2 separate regions of the Homo sapiens genome follow, and region 1 is linked to region 2. Evidence: promoter capture Hi-C in human tissues and cell types (Jung and others, 2019). All regions are on one chromosome and are shown on one strand. The core of a region is centred on a gene start or on the middle of the fragment in contact, and the rest is flanking DNA. Distances in the headings are between cores, read along the strand shown.

The links. Contacts are between HindIII fragments. The study calls those that stand out against the background at their distance.
Region 1: a fragment that was not itself captured here is called in contact with the fragment with the promoter of RASD2 in region 2 in 2 of the 25 tissues and cell types used here (adrenal gland and dorsolateral prefrontal cortex).

The regions. Positions count from the first base shown.
Region 1 is chr22:35,463,748-35,467,455 of GRCh38, reverse strand. No RefSeq gene overlaps it. Among named protein-coding and RNA genes, the nearest start is that of MCM5, 65 kb to the right of the region's middle. The HindIII fragment of the contact is 6,473 bases long and covers 1-3,708 here.
Region 2 is chr22:35,538,884-35,542,876 of GRCh38, reverse strand. It overlaps RASD2 (RASD family member 2), which reads right to left and starts at 2,046. Exons shown (of 3, transcript NM_014310.4): 1 at 1,377-2,046. RefSeq lists enhancers at 1,696-2,258, 2,259-2,821, 2,822-3,384 and a silencer at 2,355-2,574. The HindIII fragment of the contact is 17,894 bases long and covers 1-3,993 here.

The DNA.
Region 1 (3,708 bases), core at 281-2,780, 75 kb after region 2:
GATCCCATCAAGTTAAAAAGCTTCTGCACAGCAAAGGAAACAATCAGCAAGGCGAAGAGACAGCCCACAGAAGGGGAGAAAATATTTGCAAACTATACATCTGACAAGGGATTAATAATCGAATAGATAAGGAACTCAAACAACCCTATAGGAAAAATCCTAATAACCCAGTTTTAAAATGGGCAAAAGGCTGGGCACAGTGGCTCACGCCTGTAATCCTAGCACTTTGGGAGGCCAAGGCGGGCAGAACACAAGGGCAGGAGATAGAGGCCACCCTGGCCAACACGGTGAAACCCTGTCTCTCCTAAAAATACAAAAATTAGCTGGGCATGGTGGCGCACGCCTGTAATCCCAGCTACTTGGGAGGCTGAGGCAGGAGAGTCGCTTGAACCAGGGAGTTGGAGGTTGCAGTGAGCCGAGATCGTGCCACTGCACTCCAGCCTGGCGACAGAGGGAGACTCCGTCTCAAAAAAAAAAAAAAAAAAAAAGAATGAAATCCTGTCATTTGCAACAACATGGATGAAACTGGAGGTCATTATGTTAAGTGAAGCAAGCCGGGCACAGAAAGACGAACTTCACATGTTCTCACTTATTTGTGGGAGCTAAAAATTAAAACAATTGAACCATGGAGATAGAGAGTAGAATGATGGTTATACGCTGGGAAGGGTAGTTGGGGGGCAGGGGAAAGTAGGGATGGTTAATGGGTCCAAAAATATAGTAGAAAGAATGAATAAGGCCAGGCATGGTGGCTCACACCTATAATAGCAACACTTTGGGAGGCTGAGGCAGGAGGAATTTGTGAACCCAGGAGTTCAACACCAGCCTGGGAAACATAGTAAGACCCTGTCTCTGTAAAAAATAAACAAAATTAGCCGGACATGGTGGTGCACACCTATAGTCCCAGCTACTTGGGAGGCTGAAGTGGGAGGATTGCTTGGGCCCAGGAGGTCAAGGCTGCAGTGAGCCATGATCACAGCACTGTACTCCAGCCTACGTGACAGAACAAGACCCTGTCTCAGAAAAAAAGGAATGAATAAGATCTAGTATTTGATAGCACAGCAGGGTAATTATAGCCAATAATAATTTAATTGTACATTTCAAAATAACTAACAGTATAATTGGGTTGTTTGTAACACAAAGGATAAATGCTTGAGGTAATGGATATCTCATCTACCCAGTAAATATATACACCTACTATGTACCCATAAAAATTTTTTAATTTTTTTCAATAAATAATTTAAAAAGAAAGAGCGGCCAGATGGATGGCTCATGCCTGTAATCCCAGCACTTTGGGAAGCCGAGGCAGGAGGATCACTTGAGCCCAGAAGTTTGAGACCAGCCTGGGAAACATAGCAAGAACTTGTCCCTATAAAAATAAATATATTTTTAAATTAGCCAGGCATGACTTTGGGAGGCTGAGATGGATGGATCACTTGAGGTTGGGAGTTTGAGACCAGCCTGGCCAACACAGTGAAACCTCATCTCTACAAAAAATACAAAAATTAACCTGGCATGGTGGTGTGCGCCTGTAATCCTCAGCTACTTGGGAGGCTGAGGCAGAAGAATCACTTGAACCCGGGAGGTGGAGGTTGCAGTGAGCTGAGATCGCGCCACTGCACTCCAGCCTGGACATCAGAGCGAGACTCCATCTCAAAAACAAACAAACAAAAAAACTAGCCAGATGTGGTGGCACATGTCTGTAGGCCCAGCTACTGGAATCTGTAGTCCTAGGATCACTTGAGCCCAGGAGTTCAAGGTCGCAGTGAGCTACGATGGTCCCACTGCACTCTACCCTGGGCAACAGAGCAAGACCTTGTCTCAAATAAATAAATAAAAATAAAAGGAGAAAGACCTAACACACTGAGGAGGCCGAGAGGAGCCCTGGCCACCTCGGCACTCATAGGCCCAGAAGGTCAAACACCAGCCCTGGGCTCCTGGCCACAGCCCTGCAGTGCTACTCAGGACCGCAGGGAGGACACTGAACCATAGGAATTTGAACACCTGAAGCCAGTGTTCAAAGAGGCAGCAAGACCAGGCCCCAGAATGCACGGATGCTGGCCCCAGCCACGGCCCCTGTGAAAGCTGCAGGCCCTGGCATTCACCCCAGGCAGCTGGGGAGCAGGCTTCCCAGGACAGCCTGTCCACTGTCGATTGCCTCATCCAACCCAGCCACGCATCCAAATACTCCTAGGACCCAGTCCCTTTGCCCTGCAACCAGACATCCCTCTCATCTGCTTGGGACTCTCCACCTCACTGAGCCTTTGTCATGTGTGAGGTCCCAGCTGGGTTTCTTTTCATCCCAGATAAGAGGAAAGTGGGGTCTAGAAAGGCTGAGTACCTGCCCACAGTCCCCCAGCTGATACAGAAATAAGACCGAGGCCAAGCTCCTGACCGCCATTATCCCATTAATCTTCACATCAACCTTGACGGAAACACTGTGAGTGGTCTTATTTTATAGATGAGAAAAATGACACACAGAGAGGGTAAGTTGCCCAAAGTCACACGGTAGTAAAAGGCAGAGTTGGGACTCAAACCCAGGAGACTGGCTCCAGGATACCACTCTCAGCCACTATCCTCTTATCCCCCTGAAGAGGGCAAGCTGCCACTACCTCATGCCACTGCCTAAAGAGTGTGCTTGGAGACTTTTACTGTCCTTGGTGGTCCACTGTTACCCCAGGCACCATTCTGCTAATAGTTGAGTTGGCAGAGTGGAGTAGTTGAGGCAGTCCGTGGAAGAGTGTGACTCTCCAGTGTAACCCCAGCTACAAGGGCCTCGCTTGGTTTTGCCACAGCTGAGTGAGTTTAGGAAGTTACTTCACAGCCCTGTGCCTCCAGGGGCCACACCTGTTTAAGGGATGCTGGCAGCAGCCCTACCTCTAATTAGTCATAGGTATCCAGGGCACATAACTGCACCTGGTACAGGGCAAACCTCCCCCGCAGAAGTGTTAACCAGTGTTGTCCTCACTGGCATCATCATTACTGTGTGAGGGTGGGAACAAAATACAAAACAATATGGTCTCCCTACTGCCAGAATCCAAAATAATGATCACTCAACTTCCAGGTCTCAGCAATAGCTTCCTGCCACACATGGGGCAGCTGCTCTTGTCTTGTCAACTTGATCCCAACCAAGGGACAGGGCCTCACAGCTAGACCCTGGGCCTTGCCTTCTGCAATGACCATCAAGCATCTTTCTTGGAGCCCCTTCTTTGTCCTCTGTCTGTCCCTCTATTTCCTCTGCTGTTGAAAGGGTTGGGGCAGGAGAGCACTGGAAGATTTCAGACACTGCAGGTAGGGAAGGGGAGATGGTGAGACCAGCACCGAGATCTGGTCCCAGGGTGGACTTCCCCAAAGACAGCCAGACTTGCTGTTCTACCACTTGGTGTGCTAAAATAGAGTCTGTCTTCTTCTTGACCTAGAGCACTATTACAAAAGGCTACCTTCACCGGAGCAGGACACTGTCCTATAGCATTTTGTTTAAAGCAATTATTTAATTGTTGTCTTCCAGATGGATGAGAAGAGGGCCTGTGTTTCTCTTATTCATGGCTGTGCCTTCAGGGCCTGGCACACAGCAAAAGTGAGGATAGATGAATGGATGGATGGATGAGTAAGTAAGTAGATGAATGGGTGGATGAATGGATGGGTGGATGAGCAGATGAATGGATGGATGGATGGCTGGATGGATGAGTGGATGAATGGGTAGATGGATGG
Region 2 (3,993 bases), core at 797-3,296:
GCACCTCCCAGGATTCTCCCCTAACCCTGCCAGCCACCTCTGAGCAAGTGCACCTGTGGATTCACCACTTCTCCCTTGAGCCTCTCTCCCAGGGCCTGCCTGAAAGATGAAGGGGTCACACGGGCACAGGCAGCAGGACAAGAGTCTGGACGTGTCCTCCCGGTGTATGCCCCAGAGCCTGTTTCACTGCACTGCCCCTCCTCCACACCCCCATGCCTCCTCCATCAGTGCACACTCAGCCTCTTTGGACACGCACATTGCCATCACTGGCTTCCAGCTGCCACTCTGAGAGTCCGGGAGCTTGGCAAAGCCAACCCCACCACCCTTGGCAGCTCAGGTGGTAGAAGGTAGGCAGGCATCCACTTCTGGCAGGCCAACTCTGCCTCTCACCAGCCCGGCAGCCCTGGGCAAATGACTTGGCTTCCTGGGGCTCAGGTTATTCCTCTGTTAATGGTAAGACATAAACCCCCTGTGTGGCCCTGGGTTTCCAATAAGTCTGGAGGCTGACCCAGCTCTTGACCCGCAGCAAACCTGAACACATGCTGGGTTCTTTTCTTCGTGGCACTTTATCTTGGCAGTCGTGGGGCTGCCTAGAGCAGCCTGGTGAGGCTGGACTGGAATGCAGGCGCAGGTCTTGCAGGGACCCCATCTTGTCTCTGACACCACAGGAGGCTTGATTCACTGGCTCCTGACCTGGCTGCTCCCTCCCAGCCTGGCTTCCCACCTTCCATGAGGTCTTGGACAACATCCCCTGTCATCCTCCTGGTGCTGGGGACAAGGGGAGGGGAGGGCACAGAGAGGCCTCCAGAGCTGCCTTCCGGGCCCTCCAAGACAGCTAAGTTACAGGAAACCCCTCCTGGGAAGGGAATCATCCAGGAAACTCACTCTGCACCAACCCAGAAAAAGCTCAAGAACTCTGGATAACGAAGGAGCTTCTTAATCTTCCTTCCCCACCTCCAGGTAATGCAGGCTGCAGCCAGCTCCAGAAGAGGGACAGGAGTGTTTGTGGTAGTTGACTCGTCTTCCCTGAGCCCCCGTTTCCTCCTATTTAAATGGGCTATTACTCTAGCTCTTTAAATGCAAAGCCTGTGGCACCAAAACTAGCACATAGTAGAAGCTCAATAAATCTTTCTTTCCTGGGATTAAGTCAAGGGTATAGCACTCAGTTTGACACATACAGTAGGTGCTCAACGAATTTAATTCTCTCTAGGTATGCAAAGTTGCCAGACGATCCCGGCACATAGTAGGTGCTCAATCAATTTCACTTTCTCTGGTCATCTAAGGAATCACTGAGCTTTCCTCCTCCAAGCCTCTACCCTTTCTTCCCGGCTGCTCCACTTCCCCCAGATGCCCAGCTCTGTTGGGGCGTCTCCTACCTGGGAATGGCGGGCCGGGCCTCTGGCACGGCTCAGAGAGCTGCCTGGAAGCGCCGGGAGCTGCGGGGAGCTGCCTGCTGCTCCAGCCGCCGAGCCTCCCAGAGTCTGTGGTGGCTCCCGGGTCACTGCGCGGGGATCCTCCCCTGCGCTGCTCGGGACGCCGGGCTGGGCGCGGCCGGGCAAGGAGGCGCAAGGGGCAGGTGCCCCATGGGTGGGCTCCGAGGGCTCGGCGGGGCCCGGGCAGGGGGCGGGCTCCGGCTCGCCGCCGCCGGCCCTGCCCTGCCCCGAGCCGGGGGCCTCCTGCTGAGCCAGGTGCCCGGAGGCTTGGGGACGTCCGATCCGGGGGTCCCCGCCTGGGGCTCTCGGGCTGGGGGCAGAGAGGTAGGGGCGACTCCAGTGATGAAGGAGCAGCTCCTAGAGACTTGGGGAGGGGGGGTCCTTTGGAGGTGACTGTGGGTGCGTGTCCCAGGTGGGCGAACCCTCCTGGTCGCCTATGCCACCTTCTCCGCCTGCCCCAAAGGGGGTCGCTCGGATGGGGGGTATCGGGCTGCCGGGCTCGGCCGCGGCCTCCTTCTCTGCCCGCGGCTCTGCAGCTCTCCCAGCGCCGGAGGGACGGCTTCTTTCTCCCCGCGCGGCGACGCCAGCAGCTGAAGGAGGAGCAGGGCGCTCTGCTCTGCGCGCGTGTGGGAGGGGGCCTTGAACGCCGCCCCAAGGTTTCGCAGCTCCAAGTTAGCATCAACCCGGCTCCTCCTCCTTCACCTCCTCCTGTCCCCAGATGAGGAGAACTTTGTGTGTGGCCCTGGGTTCTCCCTCCTTCCCCCTCTCGCAGGCAGATGCCCCACTGTCACCCGCAGGGCGAAGAGGTCGCTGATCCCTCCGAAAGGTGGCAGAACCCCAGGCTCCTGATGACGGTCCCAGCGGCACCCTCCCGCGCCCCTGCGAGCGTCGCCCACCTGCTCCTTCGGCCCCCCGCGAGCCGCGCCTCCCGCCGCCCAGCGCCAGCGTCTGCCCCCCAGAGCCCGCTCGCCCCGCCCCACCCCGGCGCCCCGCCTCGCCCCGGCGCCCGGCCAATGGGAGGCGGGTCCCGCGGCCCGGCCCCGCCCATCCCTTTCGCGGCCTCCGGGGCGCCGCGGTCTGCGGTTCCGCGTGTCCGGGCGCGTGGGGCCGGGGCCGCTGGGCGCGCGCACCTTGCCCAGAAGGCGGCCCGGGCCTCGGAGGCTGACGTCTGCGCACGCGCTCACACGCACGCCCGGCCTGGCCGCAGGTGACCCGCATGGGGTCCGGCCGCCTGCCCACTCGGCCGGGGTCTCCAGCGGCTTGCGCCCGGCCAGGTCGAGCGCGCCACGGTTCCAGCGCCCTCCTCCTTCGCGGAAGTCCCCGGGTGCCCTCCCAGGTGTCCAACCTGCCTGTCCCAGCCGCCGCCTCCCTCCCGAGCTCACGGTGCCCACGGGACCCTGCGGACTGGCACATGGGCCATGCACGTGTCGCCCAGAGGGGCGGGGAGTCACCTAGGCTTAGTAGCCAGAGGTCTTCGAGGCATGCGAGTCTCAGAGACCACGGCCGACGGGGACACACCAGGTGCCTTGAGCATTGCGTCTCCTGCCTGCATTCTCCCTCCCCACCTTTAAATGAGGGGCTTGACCTAGGCCAGACATCGGGCCTTCTCACTGGGCCATATCTCCACACCACTTATTACTTAATATATTTTTTAAAATATCAGATCCACTTTCCCCACCCCTTAAACACGTTTTTTTAGAGAATCATTATATCACTGCCTTAAATGGGAAATCAGTATCACTTGCCATAAATAGAAAGTAAGAGTTAAAATAAGCACAGTGAAAACAAAGCAAGGTTATTAAATTCCAGCTGGAAACCGTGGCCTGCCAAGGCTTGAGATGTGTGCCCTCAGTGAAAAAGGGAGATTGGCAAGGTTTGGAGAGGTGTTAAATACCCATTAGCACCTAACAGAGACTTTCTCCTTCACATATCAGGAGGCTTAAAAGAGAATGTTCTCGTTGTGTGATACAGCAAAGGGATGGGATGCTGTGTCTGTGTCCCTCAGTTCCAGATCCCTGGACCTCAGGGATGTCTGCCAGCCTCACCCCCAACCCAGATCTGGCCTCCCTACCTCATGAGAGGACGCAGGGGTCTGGGAGGGCACCTGAGGGGTCAGCTCCATTGGCTGAGAGACTGGCGTTCAAGTCCTGTCTCCGTAACTACCTAGATATCTGACCCTGGGCCGTCATGAAAAGTCTCTGGGTCCTGGTTGTGCCATCTCTAAAATGGGTATGATATTGATGGGTCCACAGAATGACAGAAGTACTAAAATGGCCTGGGACTTTGAATATGGAAAGTGACTTGCTTTGCTTGTCTCTGTAACATCTTGAGATTCTCCAGGAAAGTTAACCAGAGAGGATGGGGCAGGTGGGGGTGGAGGGTGCAGTACCTGTACTACCTGATTGTGTTTAATGCCCCAATTTAGGCCACAGAGGGGCTAAGGGGATGTGCCCAAAGTCACCTGGTGGCAAGTGGCAGGATTGCAGCCTGGTGCATTTTCCACATCCAGACTTTGCCTCTGGGAACTGGCTTCAGCCCGGGAGGGTTTGTGCTGGGCATG